4 separate regions of the Homo sapiens genome follow, and regions 1, 3 and 4 are each linked to region 2. The links are contacts of gene promoters, found by promoter capture Hi-C in blood cells and fetal thymus (Javierre and others, 2016). All regions are on one chromosome and are shown on one strand. Each heading gives the region's core, a stretch centred on a gene start or on the middle of the fragment in contact. The rest is flanking DNA. Distances are from core to core; before and after follow the strand shown. Region 1 has its middle 14 kb from the start of WNT3A. Region 2 holds the start of H2AC25 (H2A clustered histone 25). Region 3 has its middle 14 kb from the start of MRPL55. Region 4 holds the start of WNT9A (Wnt family member 9A).

The links. The method cuts DNA at HindIII sites, captures the fragments that hold promoters and counts their contacts. A CHiCAGO score of 5 or more calls a contact.
Region 1: a fragment that was not itself captured here is called in contact with the fragment with the promoter of H2AC25 in region 2 in 2 of 17 cell types (M2 macrophages and neutrophils); the score reaches 10.3 in M2 macrophages.
Region 3: a fragment that was not itself captured here is called in contact with the fragment with the promoter of H2AC25 in region 2 in 11 of 17 cell types (total CD8 T cells, naive CD8 T cells, naive B cells and 8 more); the score reaches 8.7 in total CD8 T cells.
Region 4: the fragment with the promoter of WNT9A here is called in contact with the fragment with the promoter of H2AC25 in region 2 in 1 of 17 cell types (total B cells); the score reaches 5.0 in total B cells.

Annotation. Positions count from the first base shown.
Region 1 is chr1:227,991,560-227,994,259 of GRCh38, reverse strand. No RefSeq gene overlaps it. Among named protein-coding and RNA genes, the nearest start is that of WNT3A, 14 kb to the left of the region's middle. The HindIII fragment of the contact is 7,402 bases long and covers 1-2,700 here.
Region 2 is chr1:228,456,423-228,459,122 of GRCh38, reverse strand. It overlaps H2AC25 (H2A clustered histone 25), which reads left to right and starts at 1,250. Exons shown (of 1, transcript NM_033445.3): 1 at 1,250-1,759. The coding sequence starts at 1,306. The coding sequence ends at 1,698. It overlaps H2BC26 (H2B clustered histone 26), which reads right to left and starts at 1,020. Exons shown (of 1, transcript NM_175055.3): 1 at 565-1,020. The coding sequence starts at 993. The coding sequence ends at 613. RefSeq lists enhancers at 1-540, 541-1,127. The HindIII fragment of the contact is 12,626 bases long and covers 1-2,700 here.
Region 3 is chr1:228,122,334-228,125,140 of GRCh38, reverse strand. No RefSeq gene overlaps it. Among named protein-coding and RNA genes, the nearest start is that of MRPL55, 14 kb to the right of the region's middle. The HindIII fragment of the contact is 365 bases long and covers 1,365-1,729 here.
Region 4 is chr1:227,946,576-227,949,275 of GRCh38, reverse strand. WNT9A (Wnt family member 9A) reads left to right here and starts at 1,344. Exons shown (of 4, transcript NM_003395.4): 1 at 1,344-1,483. The coding sequence starts at 1,389. It overlaps LOC124904533 (a long non-coding RNA gene), which reads right to left. Exons shown (of 2, transcript XR_007066912.1): 2 at 1,973-2,574. RefSeq lists silencers at 1,230-1,309, 2,413-2,522 and an enhancer at 1,390-1,439. The HindIII fragment of the contact is 8,120 bases long and covers 833-2,700 here.

The DNA of each region.
Region 1 (2,700 bases), core at 93-2,592, 460 kb after region 2:
GAGATCGAGACCATCCTGGCTAACACGGCAAAACCCCGTCTCTACTAAAAATACAAAAATTAGCCGGGCGTAGTGGCGGGCACCTATAGTCCCAGCTACTTGGGAGGCTGAGGCAGGAGAATGGCGTGAACCCGGGAGGTGGAGCTTGCAGTGAGCCGAGATGGCGCCACTGCACTCCAGCCCGGGCGACAGAGCGAGACTCCACCTCAGAAAAAAAAAAAAAAAAAAAGAAAGAGTGTCTTGGTCAGAATCATGCATTGCATTTAGCCGTCATGTCTCTTCAACCTCCTCCAGTGTGGCTTATTGGCCATTTATGTATCTTCTTTGGAAAAATGTCTGTTCAAGTCCTTTGCTGATTTTTAAATTGGTTTTTTGTTGTTGAGTTGTAGGAGTTATTTATATATTCTGGATATTAATCCCATAGCAGATATATAATTTGCAAGTATTTTCTTCCATTTTGTAGGGTGCCTTTTCATTCTGCAGTCAACACTTGCTGTTTTCTATTTTTGTTTTCTTCATAGTGACCATACTAACCGAGGGCATGCCAACCCTTGCATGGTTGAAAATCCATGTATAACTTCTGACTCCCCCAAATTTAACTACAGAAGCCTTGCCAATAACACAAACAGTCAGTTAACACATATTTTGTATATGTATTATATACTGTATTCTTACAATATAGTAAGGAGGAGGAGGAAGAGAGGGCTTGGTCTTGGTGTCTCAGGGGTGGCAGAGGCAGAAGAAAATCTGAGTGTAAGTGACTCATGCAGTTCAGATCCATGTTGTTGAGGGGCCAACTGTATATATCTCATTCATATATATACATAATATATATTACATTTATATATACATATATATATATACACACATCACATTTTTATATATGCGTATATATAACTTTTTTTTTCTTTTTTGAGACAGAGTCTCACTCCGTCGCCCAGGCTGGAGTGCAGCGGTGCAACCTCGGCTCACTGCAACCTCTGCGTCCCAGGTTCAAGCAATTCTCCTGATTCTCCTGCCTCAGCCTCCCAAGTAGCTGGGATTACAGGCACATGCCACCACGCCCAGCTAACTTTTGTATTTTTAGTAGAGAGGGGGTTTCACTATGTTGGCCAGGCTGGTTTCAAACTCCTGACCTCAGGTGATCCACCTGACTCAGCATCCCAAAATGTTGGGATTACAGGCGTGAGCCACTGTGCCCAGCCAACATTTGTATATATGTATATGTCACATTTGTGTATATATATCACATTTGTATATATCACATATCACATTTGTATATATACTATATATCATGTGCGTGTGTATGTGTGTATCCATTCCTATGTCAACTGATATTTAGGTTGCTTCCACCCCTTGGCTACCGTAATTAATGCTGCAATGGACATGGATGTGCAAATATCTCTTCAAAATCCTGTTTTCAGTTCTCTGGATCTATACCCAGAGTGGGATTGAGGGATAATATGGTAATTCTATTTTTATTTATTTATGTATTTATTTATGTTTATTTTTTGAGATAGCATTTCATTCTTGTTGTCCAGGCTGGAGCTCAACAGCATGATTTTGGCTCACTGCAACCTCCGCTTCCCAGGTCCAAGTGATTCTCCTGCCTCAGTCTCCCAAGTAACTGGGATTACAGGAATGCGCCACCATGCCCAGCTAATTTTGTATTTTTTTCTTGTTGTTGTTTTGAGACGGAGTCTCTCTGCGTCGCCCAGGCTGGAGTGCAATGGCGCAATCTCGGCTCACTGCAAACTGCACCTCCCAGGTTCACGCCATTCTCCTGCCTAAGGCTCCTGAGTAGCTGGGACTACAGGCGCCCGCCACCACGCCCGGCTAATTTTTTGTATTTTTAGTAGAGACAGGGTTTCACCGTGTTAGCCAGGATGGTCCCGATCTCCTGACCTCGTGATCCACCCGCCTCGGCCTCCCAAAGTGCTGGGATTACAGGCGTGAGCCACCCTGCCTGGCTCAGTAATTCTATGTTTAATCTTGCAGAAAACCTCCATACTATTTTCTATAGCAACTGTGTCATTTTACGTGCCCACCAACAGTGCATAAAGGTTCCAATTTCTCCACATCTTTGCCAACACTTGATGTTTTCTGTTTTTGTTTTCTTTATAGTGGCCATCCTAAGGAGTGTGAGATGGTATCTCATTGGTCTCGATGTGCATTTCCCTATGATTAGGATGTTGAGCATATTTCCATGTGCCTATTGGCCATTTGTATGTCTTCTTTTGAGAATCATCTATTCAAGTCCTTTGCCCATTTTTTAGTCAAGTTATTTGGTTGTGCTTGTTGTTGAAGAGTTGTAAGAGTTTTTAGATATATTGTTGATATTAATCTTTATCAAAATATATGTGTTACAAGTATTCTCTCCCATTCTTCATGTTGTAAGTTGTCTTCTCTGTTGATTGTCTCCTTTGCTGTGCAGAAGTTTTAAAGTCTGATCTAGTCCCATTTGTCTATTTTTGCCTTTGTTGCCTGTGTTTTTGGTGTCATATTCAAGAAACCATTGCAAAATCCAATGTCAAATTTTCTACATTTTCTTCTGAAATTTTATAGATTCAGGTCTTAAGTTTAGGTCTCTAATCCATTTTGAGTTAATTTTTGTTTATGGTGTAAACTTAGAGTCCAACTTCATTCTTTTGCATGTGCATCTCCATTTTTCCCAACACCATTTATCGAAGAGTGCATTGT
Region 2 (2,700 bases), core at 1-2,500:
TTGGGAGGCAGAGGCGGATGGATCACCAGGTCAGAAGATCGAGACTATCCTGGCCAACATGGTGAAACCCCGTCTCTACTAAAAATACAAAAAATTAGCCAGGCGTGGTGGGGCGTGCCTGTAATCCCAGCTACTCGTAAGGCTGAGGCAGGAGAATCGCTTGAACCCAGGAGGCGGAGGTTGCAGTGAGCCCAGATTGCGCCACTGCACGCCAGCCTAGAGACAGAGCGAGACTTCTTCTAGAAAAAAAAAAAAAAAAAAAGAAAGAAAGAAAAAAAAAAGAAATCTCGTCGTGAGTTAATAGCTCTGCGCGGAGGGAGGGGATGGAGAGGGGGTCCTTGATCGCCTCCCAACATTACTGAGCTACATCACCTGAGCAGTTTCTACCCCGATTTCTGTAACGAGCAGTTTTTCTCGTTCTGTGCCGGCGCGCGCGCGCACACACACACACACACACACACACACACGGCTCAGATTCGGCCGCACCCGGCAACCGCTAGGGTGCATGGAGACACATTAGGTTACATAACCCTTCACCGTGTTCGAAACCCTTTCTTGATCGTGTGGGTGGCTCTGAAAAGAGCCTTTGGGTTCAGGACGCCGAGGAACGCCTCACTTGGAGCTGGTGTACTTGGTGACAGCCTTGGTGCCCTCGGACACGGCGTGCTTGGCCAGCTCGCCGGGCAGCAGCAGGCGAACGGCCGTCTGCACTTCGCGGGACGTGATGGTGGAGCGCTTGTTGTAGTGTGCCAGGCGGGAGGCCTCGCTGGCGATGCGCTCGAAGATGTCATTGACGAAGGAGTTCATGATGCCCATGGCCTTGGACGAGATGCCGGTGTCGGGGTGCACCTGCTTCAGCACCTTGTACACGTAGATAGAATAGCTCTCCTTGCGGCCGCGCTTGCGCTTCTTGCCGTCCTTCTTCTGTGCCTTGGTGACAGCCTTTTTAGAACCCTTCTTGGGCGCAGGAGCCGATTTGGACGGGTCTGGCATGATGGCTGAGTCTCTCCAAACAGAAACGCGCGGCGCTCGGAGTAACTCTATTTGTACGTTTTGTATTCAAATGAAGGCTCAGGATTTGCTCACTTCTGATTGGATCAAACGTTGTTCTACGTCATCGCTGGGAAAGGAATACGCAAATTAGGAGTGCCAGGTTCTTTTTCTGATTGGCTACCATAGCCATCCAATCGAACGCCGCGGTCTAGCCTACCTCTGTACCATACATAAGGGCTCGCTGGCCTTCACTGCCCTCTTGTTTTTAGTCTCGCTTTTCGGTTGCCGTTGTCTTTTTTCCTTGACTCGGAAATGTCCGGTCGTGGTAAGCAGGGTGGCAAGGCGCGCGCCAAGGCTAAGTCGCGCTCGTCGCGCGCGGGGCTGCAGTTCCCCGTGGGCCGCGTGCACCGGTTGCTCCGCAAGGGCAACTATTCGGAGCGCGTGGGCGCCGGCGCCCCGGTCTATCTGGCCGCGGTGCTCGAGTACTTGACTGCCGAGATCCTGGAGCTTGCCGGCAACGCGGCGCGCGACAACAAGAAGACGCGCATCATCCCGCGCCACCTGCAGCTGGCCATCCGCAACGACGAGGAGCTCAACAAGCTGCTGGGCCGCGTGACCATCGCGCAGGGTGGCGTCCTGCCCAACATCCAGGCCGTACTGCTGCCCAAGAAGACGGAGAGCCACCACAAGGCCAAGGGCAAGTGAGGCCGCCCGCCGCCCCCGGGGCCCCTTTGATGGACATAAAGGCTCTTTTCAGAGCCACCTACTATCTCGAGAAAAGAGCCGCACTGATCCTGCAGTTCTTTATAGGCCGGAGGCCTGATCACCCTAGGCTCATGAATGAGCGCAGTGGCCATGGGGAAGGGCGCAACGGGAACCGAGACCCTGGGGACTGATTGGGCTGCATACTTGCGAGGTGGGCAACGTGTTCTGTTAACAACAGGGAACCCTCGTCCACAGGTGGCCACCCCTTGCTCTTGAGTCCCACCCAAAACCTCTAGTAGGGTTTTAATAACGCTCACCGTAAAGGTGTCTTCATAATTACTAGTGACAAGTTCTCTTGACTCTAGCAAGGTTCCCGTGTGGTCATCAAGTACAGAATGCAATTTCTTAATGATTTATCTGATATTAAAAGTATTTATGATCTCTAAGTAGTTTGCACTTTAATTCTGAAGAGTAAGTCTATGGATTTCTATTTAAATTGCTAAGTTTTAACAATGTGAGCTCCACCAGTGTTAAGATTTAATTTATTTGGCTGGGAATTCTAAAGGTCATGAGGAAAGTTTCAGTACTTAAAAGGAACCAGATTAGTAGATGCTGAAAGGTATAAACCTTTTAAGAAGACTTAATTTGGAATAGGATAATTATTTAAAGGAATTTAGTTTGTTTAATTCGGGTTGGTCAAACATTAATCAAAGATCCCCTTAAATTGATTGCTAAAATTGGAGAACAAAATAATTTGTACACTGTTTTTGAAAAGGAAAACTAAATTTGCGAGTTAAGCAAATTTAAAATGAGTATTGTTAGAACCAGATGAATGATGATACATGTGGACTTTAGGAAAATAACGGTTTGTAACTACATTTTTCCTTATAAAATGGAGGGTTTAAGAGCGTCGGAGACCTCCAGGCAAATTAACTGAAATGGCTGTGTTAATAGCCCCTAAATCCTGGAGGAGAGAGGTTCATTGATTTAATCCACGATAAT
Region 3 (2,807 bases), core at 298-2,797, 330 kb after region 2:
GCCTGGGTCTGGGGGGTAACAGAGCAGGGATCCACTGTCTGCAGGCTGCCTGAGTCATGGCTTTTGTACATAAGTCTCTATCAAATTTTTTTTTCTGAGATTTCAGATTTTTCAGCCTCTTTCTTCAGCCTCTCAGCTCCCCCGGCCTTTTGCATGTAGGCTGTTCCAGTGCAGAACACACAAGAAAGGACGCAGTGTCAATAGAAACAAATCCTGAATAAAGTCAGAGAGTTCAACCAAAAGGGAGTTTGAATACAAGATAGAACTAAACCACACAGAATAAAGATTACTCATGGAAGCTGAGAGTGCAATGGACTCAGGTGGGTACTGCATATGGTTCCAGAGGTTGCCGATCTGGGAAAAGCTCCTCCTTTCTGTGTCAACCTGAAATTGTTAGCAGTGGTGAATCTGTATGGGTCTGCACCAACCTGAATTCTTGACACACCAAGGCAAATTTTAGAGCAGGAATGAAAGTTTATTATTAAAAAGTTCTAGAGCAGGAACGAAAGGAAGTAAAGTACACTCGAAAGAGGACCATGAGGGCAACTTGAGAGATTCAAGTGCACGATTTGACCTTTGACTTGGGGTCTTATACATTGGCATGTTTCTGAGATCTTGCATCTCTTCTCCCCTGATTCTTCCCTTAGGGTGGGCGGTCTACATGCTCAGTGGCCTGCCAGCACTTGGGAGGGGCCACATGCACAGTGTGTTTACTGGAGTTGTATGCATGCTCATCTGAGGCATTCTTCCCTTACCAGTTGAGTGTTCCTAGAGGAAGGTCATACACCAGTTAAACTCTGCCATTTTGCCTCTTAGTGCTCATGCTTGACCCCACTCACCCAACTCCTAAGATCTTATTTGGAAGCTGCTGATTAACAGCTTCAGGTGTTATCTATCTATTAGGACACAGCTTTCCCTGGCACCAGCTGCAATCAATTATTTTAAAGCAACAGTTTAGCAACTGCCTGATTATCACCTGGTGATTGTCTGACATTCCTGGTTTGGGGGAGGGCCTCTCCTGCCCTGCTCATGTCTGCCTAACTACCTACAGTATCAAAATGAGCAAGAGAGACCAGTTCTCAAAACAAAGAGTTTACTTGCTAATAGCCAAGGAATTGCAATCTGGGATGCATGTGCTTTTGTGGACCATAAGCATATTTGAGGGGTTGGGGCAAGAGGAAGCTTTTGAAGGCAAAAAAGAGTAAGTGCATGTAAGATATTTTGAAACATAAATTACTGTTCACAGGGGCTTATTGCAGGCAGTGTTTGTTCATTGGTGGTGCTGGCTGTTGCTAGCAGAGGTGTAACTGAACTCAGGTCTGGGCCACTTGTAGCTTGAAAGGCAAAAACTCAAGAGACAAGCTTTGGTGAAAGGAAAGTTAGCTTTATTCAAGAAGCCAGCAACCCAGGGAAGGCAGTGAACTAGGGTTCAAAGATCACCTTTCTGAGTCATGCTTCTAAATCAGGGGTTTTTAAGGGAAATTAGGGAGAATAATGAAAACATTCTTGTGAAACGTGGGCATTCTCAGGTGGGCATTTAATCCTTGCCTTCTTGGTCAATGCTTTGTGGCCTTCTGTGGGTATGGTCAGGCCGGCCAATTCATTCCCAGAGCTGTTGGTTGGCACATTTTAAAAAATCTCTGTTGAAGGTCCTCTTTTTCTGAGGCTGTTTTTAGTGAATAATCTAAAGACTCAAGCAAAGCAATAATTGTATTCAAGCAAGCAAGCTTTCCTCTAACATGGAGTCAGTACTGTTACAGAGGCTCTTCATAGAAGAGCCCCTTCTTCCATGGAAGTGACTTAACTGAAAGTTCTGATAGGGAAAGTCACCTGCTTATGTCACAGCTCTGCACTGGCCCACCCCACTTGCCCCTGCAGTGACTTAGGTCACCACTGTGCAGGCCTGGCTTAAGTCAACCCATGCCACCCCCTTGGGTTGTCAGCCTTAGAAAGACTGGCTTCCTAAAAGAAAACATTTTATTTGAGAATAGCAAAAGATTGCAACCAAAGGTATGCATGTATGATATTGTGAAATATACATATTTAGGCTTTGTCTCCATTTTGGGGGCTCAGAAACAGATATCCCCAAAATATGGCGCTTTGACATGCAGAAATGAAGAAGCTGCAAGGTCTCTCTGACCTTCCCCACCTCATGTCTCCCAATTCTCTGTCTCTCCCAAAGCACAGGATAAAGTTGTTCTCTGAAGCTCCCTTATCTGCCTAAAGAAGGAAACAATTATCTCTGGTCCCTTCCCTGAGTTTTTATTAACTGAATTCATATTGCAGGGAGAAAGTCTGAAGTCAGTCCACCTGGACAGATGTCACAAACCACCGTCTACCCTCTGAGCCCAACAGACTTCGTGGAGGCCATTGTATGTTCTTCAAGCCCATTGAACTCCCCTAAAAATCATTTACTGAGCTCCTAAAATCATTTATGCTTCCCCATCTCCCTTGCCCTTAAGGGCAAGTAACCATCTGTACCCCACTCAGTGGTGGGGTAGTCACTCTGAGATTTTCTCCCATCATATTAATAAATTTGTGTGTCATATATATTCATCGCTGTTTTGTCAGATGATTTTCAGCAAATCTTGAGGGTGAAAGGTCTTTCCTGGCATACAACACCTGAAGTCCTTGAAATCTCTATAAGTAAGTGATTTTTTGTATGCTAATGAGTTGGCTGGTGGCTGGCAGCCCCTAGGTAGCTTCAGAATGGGGCTGGTCACTGAAAAGATCAAGGCAGGATTGGAATTTTCAGCCTCATCCCCACCTCCCCATGTCTGGGGAGGGGAAAGGGACTGAAGGTTAAA
Region 4 (2,700 bases), core at 95-2,594, 510 kb after region 2:
GTCACTGCCACTGGCGGGATTTCACAGCCTTCCGGGGGCATGTGCTCCGCCCCCCAGGTTCTGCGGTCACTGTGCCAGAATCAGTCCCTGCAGGCACAGAGGGCACTGCCTAGAGACCTGGCACCGCAGCCCAGGTCTCTGAGGCCCCTGCAGCACGTGGCTGGGCAGGCTCGCTGGCCCTGTGTCCTCAGCCTTGGCAGCCTAGCCCGTGTTGGAGGCACCATCCTGCACTGACCAGGGTCTGCAGGTGGCAGGCATGCCACCGCCAGCCTGGACCCCAAGCCCTGTTCTTGTGTCCCTTGTTGCATGGCACAGAGGCCCCATCCAGGGAACTTATAAGCCTTCTCCTGGATGCCACCCCCAGGTCTGTCTGGAATGTGTGCACCTGTATCCTAATGCCAGCTCTGGGTCCTCTGACACCATTCTGCTTCAGAAGCAGCTCCGAATCCGTATCGCAGAGGGGACGAGTCCCCGGGCTGTGACTGAGCGCTTCCAGCTGCCTGGGTGTGCACCTTCCATCCCAGGAGTCCTCTTTCTCCCCGTCCCGGCCAGGACACAGGCTCTGAGAAGGGCGTTGCCCGATGGCTGGTGTTTCATTGACTTAGCCGCTAGCTCCACTCCCACAATTTAAGAATGGGGAGACCATCAGGACCCCAAAAGGTAGAGCTACTCACCTCACAGCCCCAGCAGGCTACGTCGCTTCATTCCCAGGCCGAAAGCGGCCACAGTCCCTGCCAGAAAGGAGCGATTCTCTGGCCCCGCTCCTTGAGGGGGTCAGCATGCGCAAGAGGCGCAGGCATCACCGGCTGGCCCGACTCCTCCTCACCAAGCTTCCCCCGGAGCAGCCGCGCAGCGCCCAGCTCGGGGCAGACGGCTGGGTCCTCTGTGGAACCATCCCCGACCGTCCCGGCCTGGAGCCCCGCCGGCGGCTAGCCCGGCGGCCAACGCCTCCCCTCCCCTCCCCCTCAATCCCGCCCCGGGGGCCGCCCCAAGCTCCCACTGCAGCGCCCCCAACGCTCTACCCGCTTCCCGATGCCCGCCTCCGGCCCCCCAATGCCGTCCCGCCGTGGTCGCCCCGGGTTCTCGCACGCCCCGCCCTCGGTTCCCACCGCTCTCCGCCTCCCCTTCCTCCATCCCCGCCGGGCAGGGCGCGCCCGAGACCCGCGCCGGGAGCGGCGGCCGGGGCCCCGAGTGGCCGGGAGGGGCTGGCGGGCTGGCGCGCGCGGCTCGGGTTTCGGCCCGCCCCCGGCGCCGGCGTGATCCCCTCCCGGGCGCGGGGCGGGGCCGGGCCCAGCTGGCCGCGCTCCGGGCGCTATAAGAGGGCGGCGGCCGCGGCGCGCCCTGCGCGGAGCTGGGAGCGCGATGGTCGGCCGCCGAGGCGCGGCAAGATGCTGGATGGGTCCCCGCTGGCGCGCTGGCTGGCCGCGGCCTTCGGGCTGACGCTGCTGCTCGCCGCGCTGCGCCCTTCGGCCGCCTACTTCGGGTAGGTGCCTTCGGCGGCCGGCGCGCACTGGTGGGCGGGGGCGGCGGGGCCGGGGCGGGGTCGTCCGGAGTCCCCGAGGCACCCGGGGTGGCTGGGGCCGGGGCGCGGCGGGGCCGCCGGGTTGCCTGGCGCTGTTTGTTTGCGGCGCGCGCGTCGCTCCGTCCGCTGCGCGGCACGGCTAGAGAGGCGGGTGGACCCGTCCGGCTTGCGCCGGGCCGCGGTCCTCCGTGACCGCAGAGTCGTCGTCGTCGTAGTCGCCGCCGTGAGCAGGACTGCCTCGCGCTTAGGGACTGGGATCAGGTCCCGACTTCCTTGGGCCGCCGTGTCCTTGCCAAAAGGCTGGAGCCTGAGTCCTCAGCCCCTGGCCATCGCCCACCTAGCAGCTTCCCCCCCTTTCTCTTCTCGAGAAGTTAATTTAACAATAACAAAAATACGTACAAAATCCAGATGTTCCTCGCGCTGAGCCCCAAACGGAGAGAGAGAGAGAAAGAGAGAAATCCTCCAAGCTGGAGGAATTTATTTTTCTTGCGCTTTGCTTCTGACTCTGTGGCCCGGGCCCCGGCCCGCGGGAGCGCGTCCATGGAACCTGGCCGGGAGCGCAGGGCCCGGCCGGGGCGTCCCGCGGTGTCATTGCCCGTGCTCACGTGTCTCTGCAGCAGCGCTTTGCCGGGCTGTCGGCGCGTCTCTCTCTTCCTTTCTTTCCCTTCCTTCTTCCCTCCCCCTCTCTGAGGTCTGGGATGCCCAGTCCTGCGACCTTTACAGGGACCCTCGCTGCGCTTTGGGCGCGCTGAGGTGCAGGGTGGCGCCGTGCGAGGCAGCGCCCCGGGCCTCCCCGCCACCCTCCAGCCTCCTACCCCGAGCGCCGCCGCTGGGAGCCCTGGCTGGCCTTCGGATCCCAGCCCCCGACCTGGACGCCCTGGGCCGCTCCCTCAGCCGGGCCGCCGCCCTCCGCCGGTCACCTGTTCCCGGCCCTCTGGCCTGAGCGCCAGCGCGCGGCGGGCTGGCCGGCAGAGGGCCCCGTTGGTCCAGGAATCTGGCACCCGCCCGGGCAGGGAGAGGCCGCCTGGGCCGAGGAGCCCTGCAGGTGTATCCTGTTCTCAAAGAAAATAAAATATTTTCATGGGAAACTTTCCCTTTGTGTTTTTCTTTCTCTCCCTTTCTTCTCTCTGTTCCTTTCTTCTGGGTCGTCTTCCAGGGTCAGCCCGGTGTCTCAGTTC